4 separate regions of the Homo sapiens genome follow, and all the other regions are linked to region 3. The links are contacts of gene promoters, found by promoter capture Hi-C in human tissues and cell types (Jung and others, 2019). All regions are on one chromosome and are shown on one strand. Each heading gives the region's core, a stretch centred on a gene start or on the middle of the fragment in contact. The rest is flanking DNA. Distances are from core to core; before and after follow the strand shown. Region 1 has its middle 11 kb from the start of IRF1. Region 2 overlaps RAD50 (RAD50 double strand break repair protein). Region 3 holds the start of SHROOM1 (shroom family member 1). Region 4 overlaps CARINH (colitis associated IRF1 antisense regulator of intestinal homeostasis).

Evidence for each region. The method cuts DNA at HindIII sites, captures the fragments that hold promoters and counts their contacts. A contact is called where the count stands out against the background at its distance.
Region 1: a contact is called between a fragment that was not itself captured here and the fragment with the promoter of SHROOM1 in region 3, in 1 of the 25 tissues and cell types used here (IMR-90 fibroblasts).
Region 2: a fragment that was not itself captured here is called in contact with the fragment with the promoter of SHROOM1 in region 3 in 2 of the 25 tissues and cell types used here (hippocampus and lymphoblastoid cells).
Region 4: a fragment that was not itself captured here is called in contact with the fragment with the promoter of SHROOM1 in region 3 in 1 of the 25 tissues and cell types used here (heart right ventricle).

What each region holds. Positions count from the first base shown.
Region 1 is chr5:132,478,444-132,481,143 of GRCh38, forward strand. No RefSeq gene overlaps it. Among named protein-coding and RNA genes, the nearest start is that of IRF1, 11 kb to the right of the region's middle. RefSeq lists enhancers at 829-878, 889-1,138. The HindIII fragment of the contact is 3,842 bases long and covers 1-2,700 here.
Region 2 is chr5:132,564,552-132,567,251 of GRCh38, forward strand. All of the region lies in intron 2 of RAD50 (RAD50 double strand break repair protein), which reads left to right. Among named protein-coding and RNA genes, the nearest start is that of RAD50, 8.9 kb to the left of the region's middle. The HindIII fragment of the contact is 5,353 bases long and covers 1-2,700 here.
Region 3 is chr5:132,829,279-132,831,978 of GRCh38, forward strand. SHROOM1 (shroom family member 1) reads right to left here and starts at 1,369. Exons shown (of 10, transcript NM_001172700.2): 1 at 1,316-1,369. RefSeq lists silencers at 738-1,047, 1,258-1,677. The HindIII fragment of the contact is 17,651 bases long and covers 1-2,700 here.
Region 4 is chr5:132,431,985-132,434,684 of GRCh38, forward strand. All of the region lies in intron 2 of CARINH (colitis associated IRF1 antisense regulator of intestinal homeostasis), which reads left to right. Among named protein-coding and RNA genes, the nearest start is that of LINC02863, 6.6 kb to the left of the region's middle. The HindIII fragment of the contact is 9,906 bases long and covers 1-2,700 here.

The sequences.
Region 1 (2,700 bases), core at 4-2,503, 350 kb before region 3:
ATCATCTCCTTGGGTGAGGAATGGTGGGCTGGACGTCTGCCTCCCCTCTTTCATTCAGTCCCCATGTCCTTGCTCCATAGCCTCCAGTATCTCCCCAGCTGAAGTTTCACTCAGCAGACTCTGCAGGCTTGTGTCTTACCACTGAGCCAGCAGAGGTGGACTTCTGTAACTCCTTACCCTGAGAAAACCAGCATAAATGGGTCTCTTGAGAGCTGCCTGGAGCTAGGAAAACTATGCGGCCAGCCAGCTATACCCTTCTGAGGCCTTAGACTTGGCCCCACAAGGGAGCTCCGGATGATAAAGCCAAGCTCCACCCTGCCAAGTACTTTCACCCCTGGAAAAGGAGGGCACCAGCTTCCCCTTCTCCCACCCCAGGCCTCCTTCCTCTGTGACAGCCAGCAGAACTGGGGAAAGGTTAGTGCTGAGTTCTGATGAATTGGAAGATCAGTTGTGCCCAAGTTAAGGAACAGCATTACATCTGACAGAGACAAAAGCTTTCTATAGGGTCACTATATTAGCCCTGGGTGCTCCAACAGGACTGCCTGGAGGACATCTGTACCCCCTTTCCCCTCCAAGTATAAGGGCAGAGTTTTGGATCTGTACACAGTGTGAAAGATCAAGTGGTCCCAGAGAATGACAACCTGGCTGTTTCCCAGCCCCACCAACCAGGAGACATCACTCCTAGAGAAAAAAACTCCACTTCCCAGGGCTACCCCAGGATTTCAGTTCCCACTTTGGCAGGCCCCACTGGAGACTTCCAGAAAAATCAGAGAAAGCTCTTTCCTTTGGAGTTGTAATGGTCACAACACCCTGCACACAGTGCACTGAGAGATGTTGAAAGCTGACACACCAAGAAGGGATGGTTTGCCTATTAGCTTCTAGCTTTCTTCCTATTGCCAAGTGAGCTGAATGAATAAACCAGCCCAATGAAAGTGACCAGCCAGCTATACCCTTTTGGAGTTAAGGCAAGGAAACCCATGACTAACCACAAATGCCCGCAAATGTCTGTAAACTTGGCCCAACATGAGAAATCTAGCTGGTGTGGCTGAGCACCACTTTTGTCAGTTTACCCCAGTGGAAAGTGGTCCTTGATGACAGTTATCTCATCACAACCCCAGCAAAACAGATCTTTCAACAACCTCCTAGCTCCCTCAACCTAGAACTTCCACCATTAGTGCTTATACTGAAACTCTTGAGAATGACCCACAGAAGCACTGTCAGGTCCTTAGAATGATCTAATTATTAAGCACAAACTTGGTTCAGATCTTACTAATACTGCTCCGTTTCAGGCACTGTTTGGCTAATGACTCGGTAGTGTCAGCTGCCATCACCTTTAGGTGAGCTGTCAGACCTTATTTAGTTTCTTTTCCTAGGAAAAGGCTGAAGTCTTGGTAGGATGTGATGGGACAGCTCTCCATCCTGAAAGGTCTGGCTCTATCCCACACTACTCCAGGCTTGGTCCCTAGGACCCAGCTCCATTGTGATGGGGGCCAGGGGAGAGTTTTGAGGTCCCTCCCTGGAGATTCCAAGCAATTGCTACCAATCATTTAGGACTCCTGGGATCAGAGGGGATGGGGAAATTGAGGACTACATCTTGGTTGTGGAGATTGGAAGCTGATGGACATAATTCCTCTCTCTTTTTGGTAATTTACAAGCAATTAACTTTGCTTTTAGAACTTGAGAGATTTCCACAGCTGCCTAAGACTTCACATACTCACTGCCTACCCTCCATCAGGGATTAGATTGAAGGGCAGGAGAAAAAGAAGTCAGAGCTGCTGCTTGTTCTGGGTGGTATCACTTTCCTCCCGTCAGTCCACTCTACCTTGCTCTGCACCACCTGCCATCACCCACTAGGAGAACCCAGATGGAAGCCACAGGTGGCTAGCCACCTCAATCCAAATCTTAAAAAGGGCTGGTCCCTGAAGGAGCTGGAAAAGTCCATCCTGTCTATTCCTCTGTTCCCAGGTGAAGCTATTCTTGAGAAATCCAAGTGGAGCTTCCAAGTAGAACTTCTTTTTTTTTTTTTTTTTTGAGACAGAGTCTCGCTCTGTTGCCCAGGCTAGAGTGCAGTGGCGTGATCTCAGCTCACTGCAACCTCCACCTCCTGGGTTCAAGTGATTGGCCTGCCTCAGCCTCCCTAGTAGCTGGAATTACAGGCATGCACCACCACGCCTGGTTAGTTTTTTTTTAGTAGAGACAGGGTTTCACCATGTTGCCCAGCCTGGTTTTGAACTCCTGAACTCAGGCAATCCACCTGCCTCGGCCTCCCAAAGTGCCAAGATTACAAGTGTGAGCCACCGCGCTCGGCCCAAGGGGAGCTTCTGACAAGCAGGGCCTGGGATAGGGGCCTGTCCAGGCATCCACATATAGAATATTTACCCAGCAGGAGTCCCCCTGCCACTCACACAGCATCTCCAAGATCAGGGACCAGTACTTCCTGAGCTTGACAGAGAATGAATGTGTCAGACTGACCTCTGCCCATTTTGTAGTTTTCTCATCATTTTCTCACTCAGTCTTCCCTTTTCAAGGGCCCACACTCTTCCCGAGGGCTGGGCCTAGTGAGCGGGGTCACAGTACATATGGTTTCTGGGACTGAGAAGGTGGAAGATGTGTCCATAGAGCTTTTGTTTCCTAAGCAACGTATTACTGCCATGATTCCATTCCCTAGATGATGCTGGTGATGCAAGCTGGCTTCTCTTG
Region 2 (2,700 bases), core at 190-2,689, 260 kb before region 3:
ACTGGAACTTATATTTAAAAGGGAAGCAGAGCATAAAAGTTTGGAAAATTTGCACCCTGATCATGTGGTAGAAAAGAAAAACCCATTTTCTGGGGAGGAATTCAAGCCGGCTGCAGAAATTTGCATAAGTAAAGAGGAGCAGAATGTTTAATAGCCAAGACACTGGGGAAAATGGCTAGAAGGCATTTCAGAGATCTTCACAGCAGCCCCTCCCATTACAGGACACTACTCCCTGTGTTTCAGCCACTCCAGCTCCAGCCATGGCTAAAAGGGCCCCAGATATATCTTAAGCTGCTGCTCCAGAGGCTGCAAGCTGTAAGCCTTGGCAGCTTCCACATGGTGTTAAGCCTGGGGTTGCGCAGAGAACAAGAGTTGAGGCTTGGGAGCCTCCACCTAGATTTCAGGGGATGTATGGAAACGTCTGGATGTCCAGGCAGAAGTCTGCAGGACTTGTTGCAGGAGGGACCTGGTTGGGGTGATTGGATCATGGGGGTAGATTTCCCCCTTGCTGTTCTCATGATAGTGAGTAAATTCTCATGAGATCTGGTTGTTTAAAAATCTGTCACAATTCCCCCTTTACTCTTTTTCTTCTGCTCCAGCCATGTAAGATGTGCCAGCATCCCCTTTGCCTTCTGCCATGATTGTAAGTTTCCTGAGGTCTCCCCAGTCTTGCTTCCTGTATAGCATGTGGAACTGTGAGCCAATTAAACCTCCTTTCATTATAAGTTACCCAGTTTCAGGTTTTTTTTTTATAGCAGTGCAAGAATGTACTTATACAACCATAATCTTAATATATTGACTTAATCAATCCTCCTGTATGTAATCAATGTCTCATCGTTGCATCAGGGCCCTAGCACCTCATATGGGCTGACTCCATCCCTGTATGCCAGTCTTCCTTATCCTGCGTAGGCTCTTGACTCTTCATTCTGACTCCCTCATGGGATGCTTTTCCATTCTGTATACACTTTGACTTCTGGTGCTAGATCATGTCCTCATTCCCCGCCCTTCTCTGATACCAGGTGGCCTCTTGCAGGGATGCCCACTGTACTCTGACCTGAATCTCCCCAGATCTGTGTCACTGAGAGGGTCACTCTTCTCAGTCTGATACTTTATACCAGGTGGCTTCTTGCAAGAATGCCGTCTCTACTCTATGATCTGACTTCCCCCTAGCCGACTTAACCCTCAGGTGGGCCCCCTTCTCATCATTATCAGGCTCTGAATCCCCACACTATTCCCTGGCGTGGACACTCTGCTTCTGAGCTGGATCCCCCCTATTTGTGGATTCCTCTTTCATCCTGCTGGAACTCTGATACCATTGGACTCTTGAAACTCTGTCTATGCCAAGCTGTTTCCCCATGAGGGTACCCTTCTCAGCCTACTCAAGCTCATTTATTCCACTCTAGGCTGAGTTATAGGTGCCTTAACCTTCAGCTGGCATGAACACGCACCTTCTTCTGCCCCACCTAATGGTTTTACAACTAGATTGTTTGGAGAAAGAAGGGTTTTTCTTATTTTTTATTTTATTCTTTTTGATAGAAATTGTTCTGAAGTATAATACACATTTCTTTGTTTTAATAATTCAATCTAAATTACACTTCACTTTTGAAGTGACTCTTCTTCAATAAGAGTGTCAACAACAATGTAGTGATAGAAATGCTACAAGATAGCCCTTGCTTGAATTCTATTTACTAATTTGATGTTTGCCGGGTAGCTAGGTCCTCGAAAAGTAGATGCCATGGAGAAAGAGTATGTGTATTTGGCTTGCTACTCAGGAACACTGTAAACAAATTAATTTTTTGCTGCATAAATACATAGCTCCTTAGTTCAACTACTGTGGATTAAACCTTCAGCAGAATGCTCTCCTTATGATGAAATGACAGAGTCAAGTCTGGGCTTTCAAAGCTTTATACTGACCTCTGGCCACCTCCTCATTGAAATGTCTGTATCCTAAGAGGCTGTTTCTGAGTAGCCAGTTCAGCGACTTCTTCCTCTTTACCTCCATCCTCAACCCTTGTCCAGGCTGCCTTCCTATCTCTCCTCGATTATTCCCTGCTTCATGTCTTGTCTCAGTTCACTCTGTTCACCCTAAAGACAAAATAATTCTTCTAAAATGCATATCTACTTCATGCAATTCCCCTGGTTCAAACCATTTAGTGCCATCACCTTAAATCCAAAAGCCTTACCAAGTTTAGAAGGCTGTTAATTTCTGAAACATTTTAGGTTGATACTCTTCTTTTCCCTACTTTCTATGCCAAACATTCTGAAATTTCTGTAGTCACGTAGTGACTCAGATCTTCTCATCTGGTTAACTTCTACCCAGATTGGTAGAAGTTTCATTTAAACATTCACTTCCTTTAGACTACCTTCCCTGAGCTGTCCTAGATAGGTTAGATGCTCCTGCTTTGTACTCCCAGATTATCCTGTGCTTATGATGGTGTTTAGCACACCTTGTCTACATTTAACCTATCTTGCATGCTTCAAAGGAAAAAAAGTCTGTCAGTTTGAACCAAAACAACACATGAAACCTACAAAGTGCCTGTAAATATTTGTTGAATGATTAATTGAATTAGTATCAAAGTTAAATTCATGCCAAGAAGTCATTAAAAAGTCAGCAAAGGATCTTTAATGATTTTTTTTTTTTAAAGCAGAATCCAGTACTTGTGATTTGGGTTGCAACAAAATAATGAGTATCACACTTAT
Region 3 (2,700 bases), core at 119-2,618:
CTGGCAGGTGGAGGCACCAGTCTGAAAGGAGGAGCTGGGGCTGAGGAATTGTCAAGGGGGCCAGTGCTCCTTCAGTCTGGGCTTCATGGTGTCTGTGACAAGTCAGGCAGCAGTTGGGATGTGGCTCTGGAGTTCAGCAGGGGAGGGTAGACCAGGCAAGACCCAGGTTTTTAGTTAGAGGTTACTGGGGAAATAGCTGAAGACAGTTTCCGGTGGATAAAATCACACCAAGGCAATGGGAACAGATCCAAGTAAGGCGACCGAGGAGGCACAGGAGAACGGACAGCCTCAAATACAACGAATGATCAGGATTTACATCATACCTCCCTCAAGGCCACCTCACATCTGACCTCTCTGTGGAGGGGCTATCCAGGCCGCCCCTCCCAGCGGGTCTTCCCTCAGTACTGGGCTCACTGTGTAGGCGCTGTCTCCCTGTCAGACTGAGTTCCTGGGTACTGGACCACGTCTCAAAACCCAGTACCCGCAGCTGGGTCTGGCTAGGCGGACGTTCTGGGAAGTTCACCGGCTCTCCCTGTCCCCAGCGTCCCCCGTTCTCCCAGCCTGTCCGCGCTGACAGCGCACCCCACGCAGCATCCACGCTCCGAGTGTGCGACTGGTTTACGGGCTCATCGGTCGCTGCACCCCAGATGCAGAGTCTCTGGAGACCCGAGCTCCGTGCCATGCACAGGAAATGCAGGAAGCTGGCGACACCCGGGGAGAGGCGGCCGCGGGCGTGGACAGACCCGGTTACCTGGGGTTCAATCTCTGGGAGCCGAGGCACGGGAGGGAGAGAGGCGCAGGCCCCGGCGGCCGCAGGGGGCGGCAGAGACACGCGGAGCGGCTCGACAGCAGATGGCCGCAGCCCCGCGCAGTTCTGGGCCTTTCCCGTTGGGTTCACCGTCGGGGAAGGATCGCGCGCAGGGGACAGCGCGAGCCCGGGAGGGAAGGACCCGGCTTCTCCAGATGCTTGGCGACAAAGGGCAGGAGCGGAGGGTGGCGGAGTGAGACCGCGCTGCCCGCCGGCGCCACACGCGGCGCGCCCAGCCGCGCCCCTGAGCCGCGCCGCCAGCTTAGAGTGGGCCGCCTCTCCGCCCTGCAGCTCTGCAGCTGGGAGAGGCGCGCTGGGGTCCGACTCCACTGGCGCAACCTGACGCGGCGCCGAGCCAGACACGTCCCGGCCGAACGATGCCCGGGCTGCCCCGCGACCACCGCCTCGCCGCCCGCTCTTCACCCCCGTCCGCCCGCAGCCCCGCCGGCCTCCCGGGGGAAGCGGACCCAGCCGCCCGCTTCCCGCTCCCCCGCCCCCGCCGCGTACCTGAGGCTCCCGCCGAGACGCGCTCCTGGGCCGTCGCAGCCGCGCGGTGACATCAGAGCCCCGGGCTCTGACTCCGACCCCACCTCCAGGCTCCGGCCGCGGCCTCAGGGGAGGCGCCACGTCCGGCCGCGGGGGCGGGAGCCGCAGCCTCTTGGTAGCGTCCGCGCGCCGGCCCAGTCCCAGGTCTGAGGGTGGACAGTGCGTTCCCGCGCGGGCCACAGGCCTCTTGCCCCAGGCCGGAGAAACCTGAGCGAGGTGGTGGGAGGGCGACTACGGCGACCGCCCACCGGCCTCCAGCGCGTCCGTGATGCTCGGGGGCCGGGTCCCTCGGGGCCTGACACCTCCCTCGGTGGGGAGGTCCAGGGCGGGCCCTTAGGCGCCTGACGGCTACCCGCTTTCCCCCCCAAGCCCGGCCAAGAAAACAGAGCTGCCAGGGCCTCGTGCCTCCCACCTGTCCCGCTGAGTAACTCGGCCCTTGATCAACTCTACCCCCAGACCCCCATTTCCAAAACTCTTCCAGCTCTTTGACTCCCACCATGGGCTCTTGTCTCCTGTTCCCTGTCCCATTTCTTTCCATTTCTCCCACTACCCAGCATGGTCTGGGCCCTCCAGCCTGCTACCGGGGTGGGGGAGAGGGGGGCGGAGCACGGGGAAGCCCCTGGACTTGTGTGCACCTTAGCTGTCCTGAGTGTGTCCTTAGGGAGCTGGACATATGCATACCCACTAAGGCTGGACACTGGCGCTCGAGGCCCTCACCTTCCAGGATCTCCATTTTCCAAAGAACGCTCTGCCTGCACCTGCCACTGAGCTCTCCTTGCTGTGTCCTCAGGCTCCCCTGCCCCGACTTCCCAAACTCTGTCCTATGAATACCACTCTGCCAAGAAATGCTCCGTTCCTGAGAGGGGCTGGGGACCCTTTGATGAGCCTCTCCGGCTCTCAGGTCTCTGCCTTTGTCCTCCGCTGCCCTCCCGCTCCCACAGGATCAACAGGGCTGGGCTCAGGGGCTGTGTCCTCCCATGGTAGTATCCCTGGCAAATAAAGGTTTATTGGTGTTAATAACCAGGACTCTGAACTCTGGCCAAGAGTCAAGGTTGCCACTTCCTAGGGACACTGGGAGCCTGAGGAACTCTGTCTTCTTGGGTCTTCTTGGGTTCGGAGGCAGGAGACACCTGAGCCCGACTTCTGAGAGTGGTGCCCGCTGGGCCCTGCTCCTTCTTCAACACCATCTGGACTCAGGCACCAGCTTCAGCTGGAGCGCTAGGCTTTAAGACAGTGCCTAAGAACCTTTCGGCTTTGAAAGACTTTTGTTGTTTGTTTTGCTTTTTTGAGACAGAGTCTCCCTCTGTCGCCCAGGCTGGAGTGCAGTGGCCGGATCTCTGCTCACT
Region 4 (2,700 bases), core at 10-2,509, 400 kb before region 3:
ACTGATCATTTCTAGACCTTTTTTTTCAGTGAGAGAAAGAAAGAAAATCCCATCTTGCTTAAGCCACTATTGTTTTCTGTTTTATGTAACTGAACAAAATTCTAACCAATACAAAATAATGTTTATAATACACAATACCATAATCAATGCTGTTTTTCTTTTTCTTTCTTTTTTTAAGAGACAGGGCCTTGCTTTGTCAACCAGACTGGAGCGCAGTGGCACAATCATAGCTCACTGCAGCCTCGAACTCCTGGGCTCAAGCAATCCTTTTACCTCAGCCTCCAGAGTAGCTAGAACTACAAGTGTGCACCACCATACCTGGCTAACTTATTTTTTATAGAGATGGGATCTTGCTGTGTTACCCAAGCTGGCCTTGAACTCCTGGGCTCAAGCAATCCTCCCACCTTGGCCCCCTGAGTAGATGGGATTACAGGCACATACCACCATGCCCAGCTCCAGTGCTGTTTTTCTTTGGAGAGTGTATTTTTATTACTGATTACAAACTCATCTGTGTTTTTTGGGTTTTGTTGTTGTTGTTGTTTTGTTTTTTGCTTTTTTTTTTTATATGAAGTCTCACTCTGTCTCCTTGGCTGGAGTGCAGTGGTGCAATCTCAGCTCATTGCAAACTCTGCCTCCTCAATTCCAGCGATTCTCCTTCCTTAACCTCCTGAGTAGCTGGCATTACAGGCGCAAGCCTCCATGCCCAGCTAAATTTTTGTATTTTAGTAGAGACACGGTTTCACCATGTTGCCCAAGCTGGTCTCAAACTCCTGACCTCAAGTGATCCACCCATGCTGGCCTCTCAAAGTGCTGGGATTACAGGCATGAGCCACACCCAACCATATGTTTTTTATATATGAAGGACATGTCCTTTCTGTCAGTGTTGCTGTAAATATAATTCCTTGTTTTTGCTTGTCTTTTGATTTTGTTTATGAGTTCTGTTTTTAAAGTCTTGGTGTTTGTTTTTAATATGGCTAAAATTTCTTTAAAATGCTGTTTGCTCTTTTATCCAAAATTCTTCCCCCCTTAGATAAGTATTCACCAATATTTTTCTGGTTTTTCAATGACTTCACTGTTTACAATTAGCGTTTTAGTCCATTGGTGAGTACTGTTGGTAAGTTTTTAATCTTTTGTAGGTCATAAGTGTTTAGGCCTAAATACTCTCCTGAGTTCTAAAGCAGGAGCCAGCGTCACCTCTTGTTTATACACCCTGTCCTGGCCTGAGCCTCCTGAAGGCTGGCACATTCAGCACAGACCCCTCTCACTCCTACTTCCCACCCACCGCCCTTCTGTGGGTCACCTGCCCACTACTCAAGATAGCACTCTTGGCTTCTTCTGGAACTTCTGTCTTCACCACCCTGTGTTCGGCTCTATTCCAACTCATCTCTAATTTCTCTTTACCGAGACCAGGCCGCTGACAGCCCTCTCAACGATTCTAGGAGATTTTTGTTATTTCTTCTCTGGAAATACAATATAAAGAATTTTTATATGGTTTTCCAAGTAGATATGAAGCTTTTTAAATTAAAATTTTGTGTTCTGATAAGAGAAATGAACCATCTTCATCATTTTAAGAAGTAGAAAATATATTATAGAAAAGCACCAAAGAAAATAAAAACAACATAGAAAGTAAAAAGTGAAAGCCCTACCACCTTCAAGAGGTGACCTCTGTCAACAGTTGATATATCTCTTTCCAGACTTATTTATACAAACAAATGTGGATCTTTATAAATATACGTATGCACAGCTTTGTTCATGAAAATGGGAGCATGCTATATACTTTGTACAGCAACTGGCTTTTTTTTTTTTTTTTTTTTTGAGACAGAGTCTCACTCTGTTGCCCAGGCTGGAGTGCAGTGACACAATCTTGGCTCACTGCAACCTCCACCTCCCAGGTTCAAGCGATTCTCCAGCCTCAGCCTCCCAAGTAGCTGGGATTACAGGCACCCGCCACTACGCCCAACTAATTTTTGTATTTTTAGTAGAGACAAGGTTGCACCATGTTGGCCAGGCTGGTCTCAAACTCCTGACCTCAGGTGATCCACCCGCCTCAGTCTCCCAAAGTGCTGGGATTACAGGCGTGAGCCACCACTCCCGGCTAGCAACCGGCTTTTTACAAATAGCAGTCTATTGTGTATATTTCTCTATGACAGTACATAGAGACCTGCTGTCTTCTTTTTAAAGGCTGCTTGGTATGTATTCCACCACGTAGATGTACTGCTAGTTCATCTCCTCCCCTACAGATGACCACAAAGTTTTTCAATGTCCTGATAATATTTATAGGCCACTACATCCTCATTTTTATACTTTTATGCATTTGTGCTAGTGTTTCTATAAAATAGATTTCTACAATTGAGACTGTTGAGTTAAAGGGTATATACATAGTAAGTTGTATATACTTCCAGTTGCCCCTTGTTGAAACCTTGTACCAATCAGTGCAGTGTCCTTTTAAATGGTCTTTTCATTGCCTGTTGCTTCCCTGTCTCCCCACCCCCCGGCTCTTCACCCTAGTGCTAGAATTGCTTTTATGAAACTCAGATCTGACCATGGCTTGCCCTGTTTAAAATACCTCAGTGGCTCCTCACTGTCAGCAAAACCCAAACATTCATCTAAGCTCCTTCTCAGTTGGAGTCCTCTGGGAAGCAGACACCAAAACAGAATGAAAAGTGCAGAAGATTTATTGGGGGTAAGAAGAGCTAATGC